Linked DNA regions of Homo sapiens: all the other regions are linked to region 1. Evidence: promoter capture Hi-C in 16 types of primary human blood cells and fetal thymus (Javierre and others, 2016). All regions are on one chromosome and are shown on one strand. The core of a region is centred on a gene start or on the middle of the fragment in contact, and the rest is flanking DNA. Distances in the headings are between cores, read along the strand shown. Region 1 holds the start of KCNJ4 (potassium inwardly rectifying channel subfamily J member 4). Region 2 has its middle 4.4 kb from the start of POLR2F-AS1. Region 3 holds the start of SLC16A8 (solute carrier family 16 member 8). Region 4 overlaps BAIAP2L2 (BAR/IMD domain containing adaptor protein 2 like 2).

Region 1 (3,094 bases), core at 256-2,755:
GGAGAGTGACCAGCCCAGGGGGCTGCTCTCCCAGCCACCTGAGCTAATTTCTGGGAGGCTGAATGGAGGACATATGAGACCCACTGCCCAGTGTGGAACACCCCAGAAAGAGTCCCTCCTCCCAGTGAGAATGGAGTGGAATGTTCTAGGCTCAGCCCTTCCAACTCCAGTTGGGATATGGGTCAGTTCAGTGGCCAACAGTCTCTGTTCCCACCATGCTGCACCCATCTCTTACCCCAGCTGCCCTGGTCCACCTTTTGCTCCCCTCAGCACAGGCCAAGCCAGGGCCACAGTGAGGCTCTTGGGCCCCTAAAGTCCTGCTAACTGCCCCCAAAAGGCCTGAAGCCATGGAGGTCATGGGACTGGATGTGGGGGAGAACACACACACACACGGCTCCAACCCTTCTCTGGGCCTCCCTCCCTGAGTTCCCCACTTCCCCCAAACCTGCTGCTGAACATTCTACTGCTCTTGAGGCCCTGCTCTGTCAGCTGGCCAGGCTGCCCTGCCTCTAGCCCGCCGCTCCACCCCACCCAGCTTGCCACCTCCCAACTCCCTGCATCCTGTCCATCCTGAAGCAGGGACACTGGGGGCAGAAATGTGGGTAGGGGGCAGGGAGGCTGACACTGGTGGGGGGACATTTGGCAGGTTGCAGGGGAAGTTCTCCCTGCGGGAGGCTCATTGAGACCTCTCTTGCCTTGGGGTGCTCCCTACACACGGAGGAAAAAGCAGCCTCTGCCTCCCTCCCCAGCCTGTGTCTATCACTGTGAACGTGCAGTGCCTCCTCTACCAATCCCTGCCCCTGCGCCCTGGGGTCGTGTGGCGCCAAGTAGGTGCTCAAAACATGAGAAGTGAGATTTCGTTCTTCAGATCACAGGGCCATTTGCAACGAGGATGCAGCTGGGGAGGCGGAAAGGCGGCATCCCCCACCTTGCCACAAGTCACCTGCCTTGAAGCTCCCCGGCATGACAACTGGGGTGGGTGGAGGCAGGGAAAGGTCATGGCTGGGGCAGGAGGTCAAGACCCCTTCCACCCACCTCTCTCCCCCTTTCCAGGCCACAACCCAGACCGCGACGCTCCCAGACGGACAGACGGACAGAGCCCGCCCGTGGAGCCCGCCCGCTCCCGGGGAGTCACGGGACCGCGCGCGCGGCGCCGGGCAGCCGGGACCCGGCTCCGGATCAGGTGCGGAGCGGGCGGGGCCGGAGCGGCGGGCCCGGGACACACAGACACGCACGCGGCGGGACAAACTGACGGACAGCGCCCGGGGTGGGCGAGCGCGGCTTACCGCTGGGCGGAGGGTCCGACGAGAGTCCGGGAGGCGGCGAGCGGGCGCTACATCCCAAGGCGCGATCCGGCGGGCGGCGTCCCGGGCGCGGAAAGGGGAGTCCCGGCGCCCCCTGCCCGCGAACTCGGCCGGCCGGCCCGCGCTCCCCTCCCCGGCTGCCGCTCGGTCTGCGCGTGGGTCTTGGGGTCTCCGCGCGTCCCGGCCGTCCCGCGCCGCTCCCCGCGGGCCGCCCAACTTTCAGCGCTGCCCCGCGCCGCGCCCTCGGCGCCGCCTCGGCGTCAGCATCGTCGGGCCCGGCCGGGCTCACAGCGCGGGGGTCCGGGGGCCCGGGGCGCCCCGCCGCCCGCGCCCCCCACCCCCGCTGCAGGCGCCCTCCCCGCCGCCGTCCCCCGCTGCGCCCAGCTCCCTCGCTGTCACCCGCTCCTGCTCGCGCGCTCTGCCCCCGGCCCTGCGCTCCACTCCCGGCCCCGCTGCGCTCGGCCCCGGCCCCGCGACCCCTCGGCCTCCCGGCCTGGGGTCGCCCTCCCCGCCCCCGCCGGCCGGGCTCTGTCGCCACCTCCCCGACCGCTCTCGCGTCTCTCTCCTGCCGCCGGGGTCTCCGCCGCGCTCGCGTCCCGGTCCCTCTCCCGGCCTCCCTGCCTCCTGCGGCCCCGCTCGCCCTCTGCCCGCGGGGTCTCCGTCTCCGTCGCGGTCGCCCGCCGGCCTCCCCCCGCCTCCCTCTGCCCGCGCTGCCTCTCTCCCCTGCGCGTCTCTGTCCGTCTCCCTCGCGGCCCCTGTCCTTCTCTGTCTCTCCCCCTCCCACTCTCCGTGCGGCCCCCTCTGTCTCGGACCCCGGCCCCCGCCTTGGCCGCGTCCCCGGCTCGCCCGGGAGCCCGAGCTCCCGCCGCCCGCGGCGCGCCGAGAACTCCCAACTCGCGGCACGCCGCCCCGCTTTGCGAGACTTTCGCCCCTCCTCACACGTGACCCGCGCCCCACTGCGGAGGCCGCGCGCCCCCCAGCCCGGGAGCCCCGGCTGCCCGCGGGACCCCGCCCTGCCCGCCCCTCGGCCTAACCCGGCCTCAAGCCCCCTCCCGCGGGGCCCGCGGCGCGGAGCAGGGGCTGGGGCGGGGGGCTGCTGGCCCCGCTCCTGCCCTGGATCCTGCCCGGGTTTTCCTCCTCGCCCCAGGAGCGCTCCTCCCAGAACCCGTTCCTGGATCCGCTCCCGGGTTTTGTGCCCCCCCCCCAAAAGGGGGCAGGTGGAGAGGGTTCCTCCGAGCCGGGAAGGGGGGTGGGTGGGAGCTGGTCCCTCTGGGGTCCCACGGAGTCCGCCCCTCTCCTTAGCGGTCCTCGTACTCTCCCAAAGTACCGCCGGTCAAGGACCCGAAGCACCTCACTCTGGGAGTCTGAGGGGGCCCTATTGGAGGGACCCTCGCGATCACTCAGTCACCACTGCCCCATTTTACAGATGGCGAGACTGGGTACCAGAGAGGGTCAGAAACTCGGCCAAGGTCACCCAGAGATGACAAAGCCAGGCCAAACCCTAGTCTCTTATTCTCTGTCGCTCTCCATTACCCCAAGCTGTCAGGCCTGGGCCCCACACTCTGGGGTGTCAGGGAACCCCCAGCACCCACAGCACCTGTCTAGCCAGCTACATCCTGACCATCCTGCCACGTCACTCTAGCCCTCCGAGGAGACAGGAGGGAAAGTGCTCCTCCTTCCAGGGTGGTAGGACGAGAGAACACCTGCAGTTAGACAGCCAGCAAAACTTCCCTGGGAGTCTGGCCATCACCGACTAGCCCCATTACAGAGAGGGAGAGACCGAGGCACCC
Region 2 (3,094 bases), core at 317-2,816, 430 kb before region 1:
TTTCAAGACTGATAAGGGATTGGGAGCCCCTTCTCACAGCCCCACATGGTCTTCCCTGGGGTCAACACACCTGGATGGCACATGGACAACTCCCTGTGCTCCAAATGTCAGTGCAGGGTGACTGATACGGGGGCTCATGACCCTCTGTGCCTGCGCATGCATCTGTGTGTGCGTGTGTGTGTGTGCGTGTGCGTACGTGTGTGTGCATGTGTGTGTGCGCATACGTGTGTGCATGTATGTGTGTGCATACGTGTGTGCATGAATGTGTGTATGTGTGTGCCTATGTGTATGCACGTGCATGTCTCTGGGTGTGCTTGGGAGATAGAGAAGAAAGCAGAAATTGGGGAGAGGACAGCGGCCACATAGCCACTGTGTCCCTCTGTGGGATGGGGAGGAAGGGGCAGCAGCAACAGCCTGTCCCGCTCCTGCACACACACCCTCTGAAGGTCTGAGTGAAATAGGCAGAGAATGGGATGTGGCTGTTTGTCCTGGGGGCTTTAGGGGACCCTCCACCCGCACTGTGATAGGCAGGCAGCTCCCAGGCCTGTCTGAACAGGAACTCTGCCAGCTCTCCAAAGGCCCTGCAAGCCCCGGCCACTCCATCACAGCTCATTGATGGGCACTTATGGGTGCTGACTGTGCACTTGGCTGGTGAGCCAGGCCTGGAGTGGGCAGGAGAGGCTTCTGAAAGGGTTTCAGAGGAGTCCACAGTCTGAGAGAAGAGAACACCCTGAAAAAGGGAGTTCAGGGGTCTGAGGAGAGACTGCTGTGGTCTGCAGGGTGAGGTGGTGCTGGTGAAGGCAGCCGAGGAAGGGGCGTCACCCACTGGAAGGCTTGCAGCTTAGGGAAGGAGACTTGAAGATTAGAGATGGATAAGGAGTGGGGCATATCACAGAATCCCAGAATAGGAGATGCAGAATGTCTTTGGAAATGACCCCGTCTAAGTCTGGCTTATCCAGAGGGGAAAACTGAGGCCCAAGGATAGTGGAGGATGACTTGGCTGACAGTGATGGAGTCATTTCAAGTTAGTTCAACAAGCACCTCCTAAGCTTGTTGGGCACCAGCCTGAGGATAAAGCCTTAAATAAGGCTCTGTCTCCTCTGGCTATGGTCTAGTGGGGTGATGGACAGACAGATAAGCACTACCCTGTGCCATGAGTGCAATGATCAGTGTGTGCAGGGCACAGGGGCAAGGGGGTAATGGAGGACTTCTAACTGGCAAGACCTCTCAATGGAGGCAGCACCTGGGATGGGTTTTGAAGGATGCAGAGGAGTTTGAGACTGACCACAGAATGAAGGGATTGGTTTCCAGGTAACCTGGATGGTTCAAGTTGGTTTCTGTTTTTGCTACCTGTGAAGCAGTGACCAGTCTGTCCTCCATTAACACCCCATCATCTGGGAGACTGCAAGCAAGCTAGGGAAGGCAGGGGATTTTGGGGTGTCTCTGTCCTGAGGCAGAGGATTGGATGCAGGGTTTCCCAGGGTCTTAGCCTTCACCAAGGCACCATCAGGTCAGTCCTGGTTGTGGAGCCTTCGTCCACGCTCCCTCCCATTCAGCCAAGAAACATTGATTGAACACCAATTGTGAATGAGCCTTGCAGGCTGGAGATGATTTCAAGAGGCAGAGTTAGGGGAAAGGCATTTTGGGAAAAGGGAATAGCGTGAGCCAAGGTGAGGCTGTTGCAGCAGCAGGAAACTAAGGAAGCAAGGGCCTTTTCCACAAGCATCATCTGTTCTTGTTTGGCTCAAGCGTGGGGGCAGCAAGGGAACAGTTAAGATGCAGCTGGGAAGATTGCCTGGGCCTGAAGCTGGGGATGGAAAACCCAGGGGAGGAGTCTGGACTTTTATTGGTGGCAAGTGGGAGATATCAATGGATTTTGAGCAAGAACGACTCCCCGAAGATCCCCAGATAGGGCTGGGAGCTTGAGAGAACCCACAAGCCCCCTGGGGAGCCAGGAGTCGGGCCCTCTGGACAGTCATGTGCTGGTAAATATGCTTCACAACCAGCTCTGTTTGTGGAGGTGGGAGACACAGAGGTAGACTGCCAATTTTCATAGTGGAAAAAGTCCCATCAGGGCAGGCTCAAAGCTTCCAAGGTAATATCAACTGGCTTCGATTCCAGAGACTTTCACAGTTGGCTCTCGGGAGCCAGTGTGCGCTGACTCCAGCGCACTGCCACACCCTGGGTTATAAACTGTATTTGCCCAAGACTGCTAGTGCTCAACCCTCCTTCTCCCCGATCATTCCCATGGTGCCCTGCAAACCGGAGCCCGAGGATAGAAAAGTACTCTGTGGTTTGTCCAAGCCCAGGGGACCGCCATGGTCTGAGACCCCAGGCCTGTGGGTCTGAGACTTAGCTCAGCTGCTTATGCACTGGGTGATTCAGGCACATCCTCACTTCTCTGGGATGACTTGCTTTGCAGGGTCACTCCCGGGATAAGAAGAGGTCATGCAGTGGGGAGGTGTGGGTGGGGGCAGGGTTGTGCTGGGAAGGCCTGGGGAGCGTGGTCAGTGGTTCCCCGGGGATCAGGAACAGGCCCTCTCCCACCCCACCCCCAGCTCAGTTGCTGGACAAATCCATCAGATCAGTCGGCTGTCACCAGTAGGGGGTGGGAAAGGCAGGGTCTGTGAAATGAGGGGCCCTGGGACAGGACGAGGGCTGGAAGAGCTGTGAGAGGCCCTGGGCAAGAGGTAAGGAAGCAGGCTACAGACCACCAGCACTTCAGACCCTGCCAATGGAAAGACGGGTCTTGGCAAGTGTCGGTGTCGCCCCCTCCCTCCTTGTCCCTTGGGAAACTCCTACTACTCTGTCAGGCCTCAGCTCCAGCACACCTCTTCCAAGACGCAGGGGTTAAGAGCGAGAGTTTGGGTGTCATTCCATCTGCAGGGCCCTGGACAATCTGCTTCATCTTTTTCAAACTCATCTGTAAAATGCGGACAGTAATACCACAGAGCCTGCAGGATGGTTGCAAGGATTAAATGAGATGTTCTTGGCACGGAGGAGCCTACTTCTGACAACAAGGATGCCCTCGTTCCTTGGCTACTTCTCCTACCCACGTCCCCCCACAAGGTAGACTTGGCCCTCTGAGTCCTCA
Region 3 (3,094 bases), core at 158-2,657, 370 kb before region 1:
AGGCGAAGCCGGTGACCACAAAGCAGGCGCCCAGCACCACCCAGCCCCAGCCGCCGTCTGGGGGGCCCTCGCCCCGCCGGGGGCCGCCAGCGCCCATCGCTGCCTCTGTTGGGAGGGGGCGGGGACAAGAGGGAGGGGCTGGGCCAGCAGCCTAGAGAAGGAGGGGGATGGAGACGAAGCATGGGGAAACTGAGGCACAGGGCTACCCACGTGAGGGTGGCTCAGGTCTGGGAACCAAAAGGGGAAACGGAGGTAGGACTCTCACCCCAAGTCTCCTTCTCCTGCAAAGGGCGCTGAAGGACGAGGGGAGGACGACGGGTCCCACCTGACTCTGCACCTCTGCAGGCTCCCTCTGAAGGACAACTGCTGGCCCCTCAGGGCCTCAGGTGGAAGGCGTCGGGAAGTGGAGCAGGTATGTGCCTGGAGGTGGGCGTCCAGCACCAAAGTCGCCCCGTACGCGTGAGGGTCTCGGGACAACAGAACAAACAGCAGAGGGGCAGATGCCGGCTGCAAAGGGCCGCTGTGCGTGATTTTCCTCTTTAGCCTTCCGCCATGTTCCTAATGTTTCTCAGTGATCACAAATGACTATTGTCATTAGAACATTAAGGGGACAAAAGCCACTTTCAACAGATATCAGCCAGGGGAGCTGAGTTCCCATGCATCTCAGCTCAGCCATGGATTCCCTCCCTGACTTGGGCCGGTCGCCTCCCCTCTCCCAACCTCCCTTTCCTCCGATGTAAGATGGGTGATTGATCACCCCGAGGCCAGCTGGGAATCTTGCGGGAGAGGAGTCAGGTCTCTGGCTTCTGCCAGACAGGTAGGAACCTTAGCAGCACTGAGAGAGTGGCCTTCTGCCCTCCAAACCTCAAACCCTCTATATGAAAAGAATGGCTCCAAAGCCTGTCTCATTCCTGGGGCTCCACCCGGGGCCCTCACAGCAGTTACAAGCGCCCCCATAACAGATGAGGAGGGTGTACTCAGAGACAGGTGCACCAGGAGCCGGGGGCTGGGGATAGCCTCCTGCCCTCCTGCCTGGAGTGTCCCTCCTGGCACTGGGCAGTGCCACCACCCCCAGGGTATCCGGGACTCTGCCCCTCCTCCACTAGGACCAGGTTGTGGCTTTTCCTGCCTGTTGTCCTCTTGTCACAGGGGCAGCCACTTGAAGGTGGAGACAGGAGGGTGATCCCAGGCAGCCCTCACATCACACTCACCTGAGCCTGCCTCGTGGGTTTGGGGGTCCAGCCTCACATCTCCTGAGGCCTGCAGGGAGGGGCCGCCGCCGCAGCTCCCGGTGAAGCTTACCCGGATGGGGGCTGCCAGACACCCCAGCTTCCCACCAGCCTGGGCTGAGCCTCTGGCCGACTCCCGCCTGACGCTCCCTGCCCCAGGCCTGGAGCTTAGAGTGTGTGCCCCCACCACACCTCACCCCTGCTAAGAGGCTTTTGTCCAGGAGGGGAGAAGAGACTGGGAGCCCCAGGCCAGGCTGGGCCTCGGCGGTGGGCTCCCTGTCCCAAGCCAGTCCAGGAGGGAGGAAGAGAATCCCTGTGCCTCCTGGAGCCTGGGGTGGTAGACACAGAGACCTTGCCCAGGGGGTCCTAGTCTGGTGCTGGGGGCACAGCCCTGCCCTGAAGAGACCCCAACGGTTCTAATCACCTCAGTGCCTCATCTGCCCCCGCCCCAACCCCCCGCCCCAGGCCACATTCCAGGAGGGGCTGGCAGCTTTCTCTAGAATGAAGCTAATCCACGCCTGTGCCTGGGAATGTGGGGGGGGGAGGGGCCAAAACAAAGGGTGCTGTGTCCAGGCCGCCTGAGGGCAGCTTGCTGGTGGTCCCAGCCCTTGGCCACTGCCACCTCTCCCCTGACCCGAGCAGCCGCTACTTCCTAGGAAACCCACAGGTCGAAATGAGAGCAGGTGGAGATGGGGGCTGCAGCGCGAGGGCTTTGGGGCAGCCCTAAAGAGTTCTCCAAACAAACAAACAAGGGGCTGGGAGTGAGATGGCTTCCCGGGGAACAGCCAGGACCTCAGTACCCCCTAGACCCCATTCTCCAATGGGGGAGTCTCTATCCCTCACCCCCTGCCCTGTCCCCCAAATAAGACACCACCAGTCCTGCTGCCGCATCACTTTGCGTCCACTTCCTTTATTTCTCATCATTTACAAAAGATGTACAGAGAGGGCATGTGTTGGGCACGGAGCAGGTACAAGGGGCTCCTCCCCACGGGGGCAGAAAAGGGGGAAAGAGGTTAGGGGGCAAGAGGTGGGCCCCCCAGGGAGAGTCCTGGAGCCCCTGGAGGGGGAGAAATTGTCCTGTCCCCCCATTCCGCCTGCTTTACTTTGAAGGTCTCGGACCCCAAGCCAGTGCTTTGGAGCTGCTCAGGCTGCCGGGGTGGTCTGGGGAGGGCAGCCACCCCCCGTCTCAGGGACCCGCTTCTTGGATCTGCTGCTGTTGCTGCTGTCGCTGCCATTGCCAGCTCTGAACAGCCCCTGGGCAGGTGCACTGTGGGGTACGACCTCGGACCCCGCCTCAGCGGATGAGGGGTGCTGAGCGGTCATTGGTGATGGTGGGACGAAGCTTGACAGTGGCAAAAGGATTTGTGCCCCTGTAGGAGGAGAGAGAGAATGGGGTGAGAAGGGCAGATGATCCCCACCTGGCCATGGCTCAGGAAGGCAGCTGGGCAACTGAGCTGGGTCCTGCCTCCTGCCCCTATTTGGTCTCCATCCACTCCTTGCCCCGCTTCATCTTTTTTTTTCTTTTAAGAGATAGGGTCTCACAGTGTTGCTCAAGCTGATGTTGAACTGTTGGAATCAAGAGATCCTCCTGCCCCAGTCTCCCTAGTAGCTGGGACTACAAGTGTGTGCCGCCGCACCTGCCACCCTCCTCACTGTTTGGGCCCCCATGTGAGGACTCACCTCGGGAAGAGCTCCTGTGGTGGGTACTGCTCTGAGGACATCAGTTTCTGCAGTGGGGGTGGGGAAGGGCTGGTTTGGTGGGGAGAGGGGCAAGCAATCCCTTGCTCCTCCCCTCCCTCTCCCCATGCCCAAGGGCAGAGGACTGGGCCAGAGAGCCCCTGCCATGCCAGGCTCCTGGAAAATGA
Region 4 (3,094 bases), core at 339-2,838, 350 kb before region 1:
CCTTCCGCCATGATTGTAAGCCTCCTGAGGCCCTCATGAGAAGCTAAGTAGATGTTGGTGCCATGCTTGTACAGTTTGCAGAACCATGAGCCAAAATATACCTCTTTTCCTTATAAATTACCCAGTCTCAGGTATTCCTTGATAGTGACACAAACAGATTCATACAATGCAACAACATGAATTAATCTTACAGACCTTATGCTGAGTGAAAGAAGCTAGACACAAAAGAATATACAGGGCACAGTTCCACTCAAACGAAGCACTAGAACAGGCAAAATTCATCTGCAGAGATAGAAGTCAGAAAGCCTTTGCCCCTAGGGGGCGACACTGACAAAAGGGACATAAGAGAACTTTCTGGGTTGATGGAAACGTTCTAAATAAATCCTGTTTAACATGGTGGCCACACAGGGCATACAATTGTCAAAATCTGTTGAACTTAACACTCAACATATTTAGGAACTTCATCTTATTGTATGTAAACTTTACCTCAGTAGAAAAAAAAACTCAGGTCTGGGATGATGGTGGAAATAAAATGTAGTTTCAAAACCTTCCTTCATCTTCTCCTAAAAATGAATGGAGAAACCAGACAGCAAAATAAAAAACTTAAGACTAGCCAGGCACAGTGGCTCACACCTGTAATTCCAGCACTTTGGGAGGCTGAGGTGGGAGGATTGCTCGAGCCCAAGAGTTCCAGACCAGCCTGGGCAACATAGTAAGATGCTGTCTCTACATAAAAAAAAAAAAAAAAAAAAAAAAAAAAAGCCAGACGTGGTGGTTCATGCCTGTGGTCCTAGCTACTTGGGAGGCTGAGGTGAGAGGATTGCCCGAGCCCAGGAAGTCTAGGCTGCAATGAGCTGTGACTGCACCACTGTACTCCAGCCTGGGTGACACAGTGAGATCCTGTCTCAAAAAAAAAAAAAAAAAAAAAAAAAGTCCAGGCACAGTGGCTCATGCCTGTAATCACAGCACTTTGGAAGGCCAAGGTGTGTGGATCACCTGAGGTCAGGAGTTTGAGACCAGCCTGGCCAACATAGTGAAACCCCATCTCTACTAAAAGTACATAAATTAGCCGAGCATGGTGGCACGCGCCTATAATCCCAGCTATTTGGGAGGCTGAGGCAGGAGAATCGCTTGAACCCGGGAGGCAGAGGTTGCAGTGAGCTGAGATGGCGCCATTGCACTCCAGCCTGGGTGACAGAGCAAGATTCCGTCTCAAAAAACAAACAAACAAACAAAACAAAACAAACAAAACCACCAAAAGAAAAAAATAAACTCAAGACAACATTCAGAACAAAACTATGACAGTATATCTCTACAACCCTCCAAACAAAAATCAGCACCGGCTGTGAGGTCAGTGTGACCAGCATCCATGTGGATGGAGCAGTGGGAGGTAGCTGGGCGTTGAGGGACCTGAGCACAGGTGCACCCCGACATGGCCAGCAGATGGTCATGGGAAGCTCAGTAGGCCAGTCTGTGAACAGCAGCTGAAACTCCAAGGAGTTTGTGAGTCCAAAGGGTGAAGGTAAGAGGTCCCTGGTAAAGTCTGAAGGGGCTGGAGTAGTCGAGCCTCTAGGAAGTCTTGAAACTGACCAGCCAGGCTCCCATCCAGACAGGGCCCATGTGGAGGAGAGAATGCCGTGAGGAGGATCAAAATCAGGAACAAGGACAACAGACACAAAAGGAAAGAGAAAGTCTAACAAAAGTAGGAGCATGAACGGAACCAGGAAATTGCAGAAAGGGAGCTGCCATATTTTTGGAAAACTACATAAGAACAACAGAAAGAGATCTTGCAAAGTGAGAAGAGCTGTCTTGACTGTGCTCCTTTTACAATTTCAGGAAAAAACCTACTTTTCCACAGACAATCTCTGAGGTGAAATCCAATAGAAAGTTATTATTAGAAAAAAGAGAATATGGAAGAGAATAACATTCCTACTGACAACCAAAACACACCAGAAAGGCCCATGAAACAGAAGAAAATGAATCAATGGTCTAAAAGTGATCCTAGCACTTTGGGAGGCCCAGATGGGAGGACTGCTTGAGGCCAGGAGTTCAAGACCAGCCTGGGCAACATAGTGAGACCTCATCTCTATAAAAAGAGTTTAAAAATTATCCAGGCACGGCCGGGTGCGGTGGCTCACACCTGTAATCCCAGCACTCTGGGAGACCAAGGCGGGTGGATCACGAGGTCAGGATATCAAGACCATCCTGGCTAACACGGTGAAATCCCGTCTCTACTAAACATACCAAAAAAAAAAAATTAGCCCGGCATGGTGGCAGGCGCCTGTGGTCCCAGCTACTCGGGAGGCTGAGGCAGGAGAATGGCGTGAACCTGGGAGGCGGAGCTTGCAGTGAGCCGATATCACACCACTGCACTCCAGCCTGGGAGACAGAGTGACACTCCATCTCAAAATTAAAAAAAAAAAAAAATTAGCCAGGCACGGTGGCATTTTCTTATAGTCCCAGCTACTTGGGAGGCTGAGGCAGGAAGATCATTTGAGCCCAGGAGTTGGAGACTGCAATGAGCTATGATTGTACCACTGCACTTCAGCCTGGGTGACAGAGTGAGACTCTGCCTCTGAAAATAAATAAATAAATAAATAAGATGAATTTGTCCAGCAGCAATAGAAATAAAGAGACAGAGCGAGAGAATATGTGTTATATGTGTGTACACACACATTGCATATAAATATGTATCCATCTATGCGTTGCACAGCCACCAAAAAAGCCTAGAAACAAAGATCAAGCCAGTGGCAATGAGCACCACTAGTATTCAGATTATGGCTTTGAAATACCACTTGCACTAAAAACAAAAAGTAAAAACAGGGCTTCATGAAGAAATGGCTCATTCCATGTCTCACACAGCACAAGTAGCAGATAAGCCTGGAACCTCTTGTCAGGCAGATAGCAAGGACTCAGGAGGCAGATTAAAGAGGCTTCCAATGGCCAGGTGCAGTGGCTCACACCTATAATCCCAGAACTTTGGGAGGCTAAACTGGGCAGATCATCTGAGGTTAGGAGTTCGAGATCAGCCTGGCCAACAAGGTGAAACCCCGTCTCTACTAAAAATATGAACATTAGCTAGATGCAGTGTTGC

What was found. The method cuts DNA at HindIII sites, captures the fragments that hold promoters and counts their contacts. A CHiCAGO score of 5 or more calls a contact.
Region 2: a fragment that was not itself captured here is called in contact with the fragment with the promoter of KCNJ4 in region 1 in 3 of 17 cell types (erythroblasts, M1 macrophages and endothelial precursors); the score reaches 6.8 in erythroblasts.
Region 3: the fragment with the promoter of SLC16A8 here is called in contact with the fragment with the promoter of KCNJ4 in region 1 in 13 of 17 cell types (erythroblasts, monocytes, naive B cells and 10 more); the score reaches 10.6 in erythroblasts.
Region 4: a fragment that was not itself captured here is called in contact with the fragment with the promoter of KCNJ4 in region 1 in 1 of 17 cell types (erythroblasts); the score reaches 5.0 in erythroblasts.

Annotation. Positions count from the first base shown.
Region 1 is chr22:38,453,694-38,456,787 of GRCh38, forward strand. KCNJ4 (potassium inwardly rectifying channel subfamily J member 4) reads right to left here and starts at 1,506. Exons shown (of 2, transcript NM_152868.3): 1 at 1,287-1,506. The HindIII fragment of the contact is 17,538 bases long and covers 1-3,094 here.
Region 2 is chr22:38,028,318-38,031,411 of GRCh38, forward strand. It overlaps a transcript of POLR2F not described here. Among named protein-coding and RNA genes, the nearest start is that of POLR2F-AS1, 4.4 kb to the right of the region's middle. RefSeq lists enhancers at 110-610, 2,705-3,094. The HindIII fragment of the contact is 1,038 bases long and covers 1,048-2,085 here.
Region 3 is chr22:38,082,777-38,085,870 of GRCh38, forward strand. SLC16A8 (solute carrier family 16 member 8) reads right to left here and starts at 1,408. Exons shown (of 6, transcript NM_013356.3): 1 at 1,212-1,408; 2 at 266-585; 3 at 1-105. The coding sequence starts at 97. It overlaps BAIAP2L2 (BAR/IMD domain containing adaptor protein 2 like 2), which reads right to left. Exons shown (of 14, transcript NM_025045.6): 13 at 2,910-2,956; 14 at 2,124-2,599. The coding sequence ends at 2,524. RefSeq lists an enhancer at 892-1,673. The HindIII fragment of the contact is 1,274 bases long and covers 1,296-2,569 here.
Region 4 is chr22:38,100,640-38,103,733 of GRCh38, forward strand. The region is part of intron 4 of BAIAP2L2 (BAR/IMD domain containing adaptor protein 2 like 2); the gene reads right to left. Among named protein-coding and RNA genes, the nearest start is that of BAIAP2L2, 8.5 kb to the right of the region's middle. The HindIII fragment of the contact is 3,305 bases long and covers 1-3,094 here.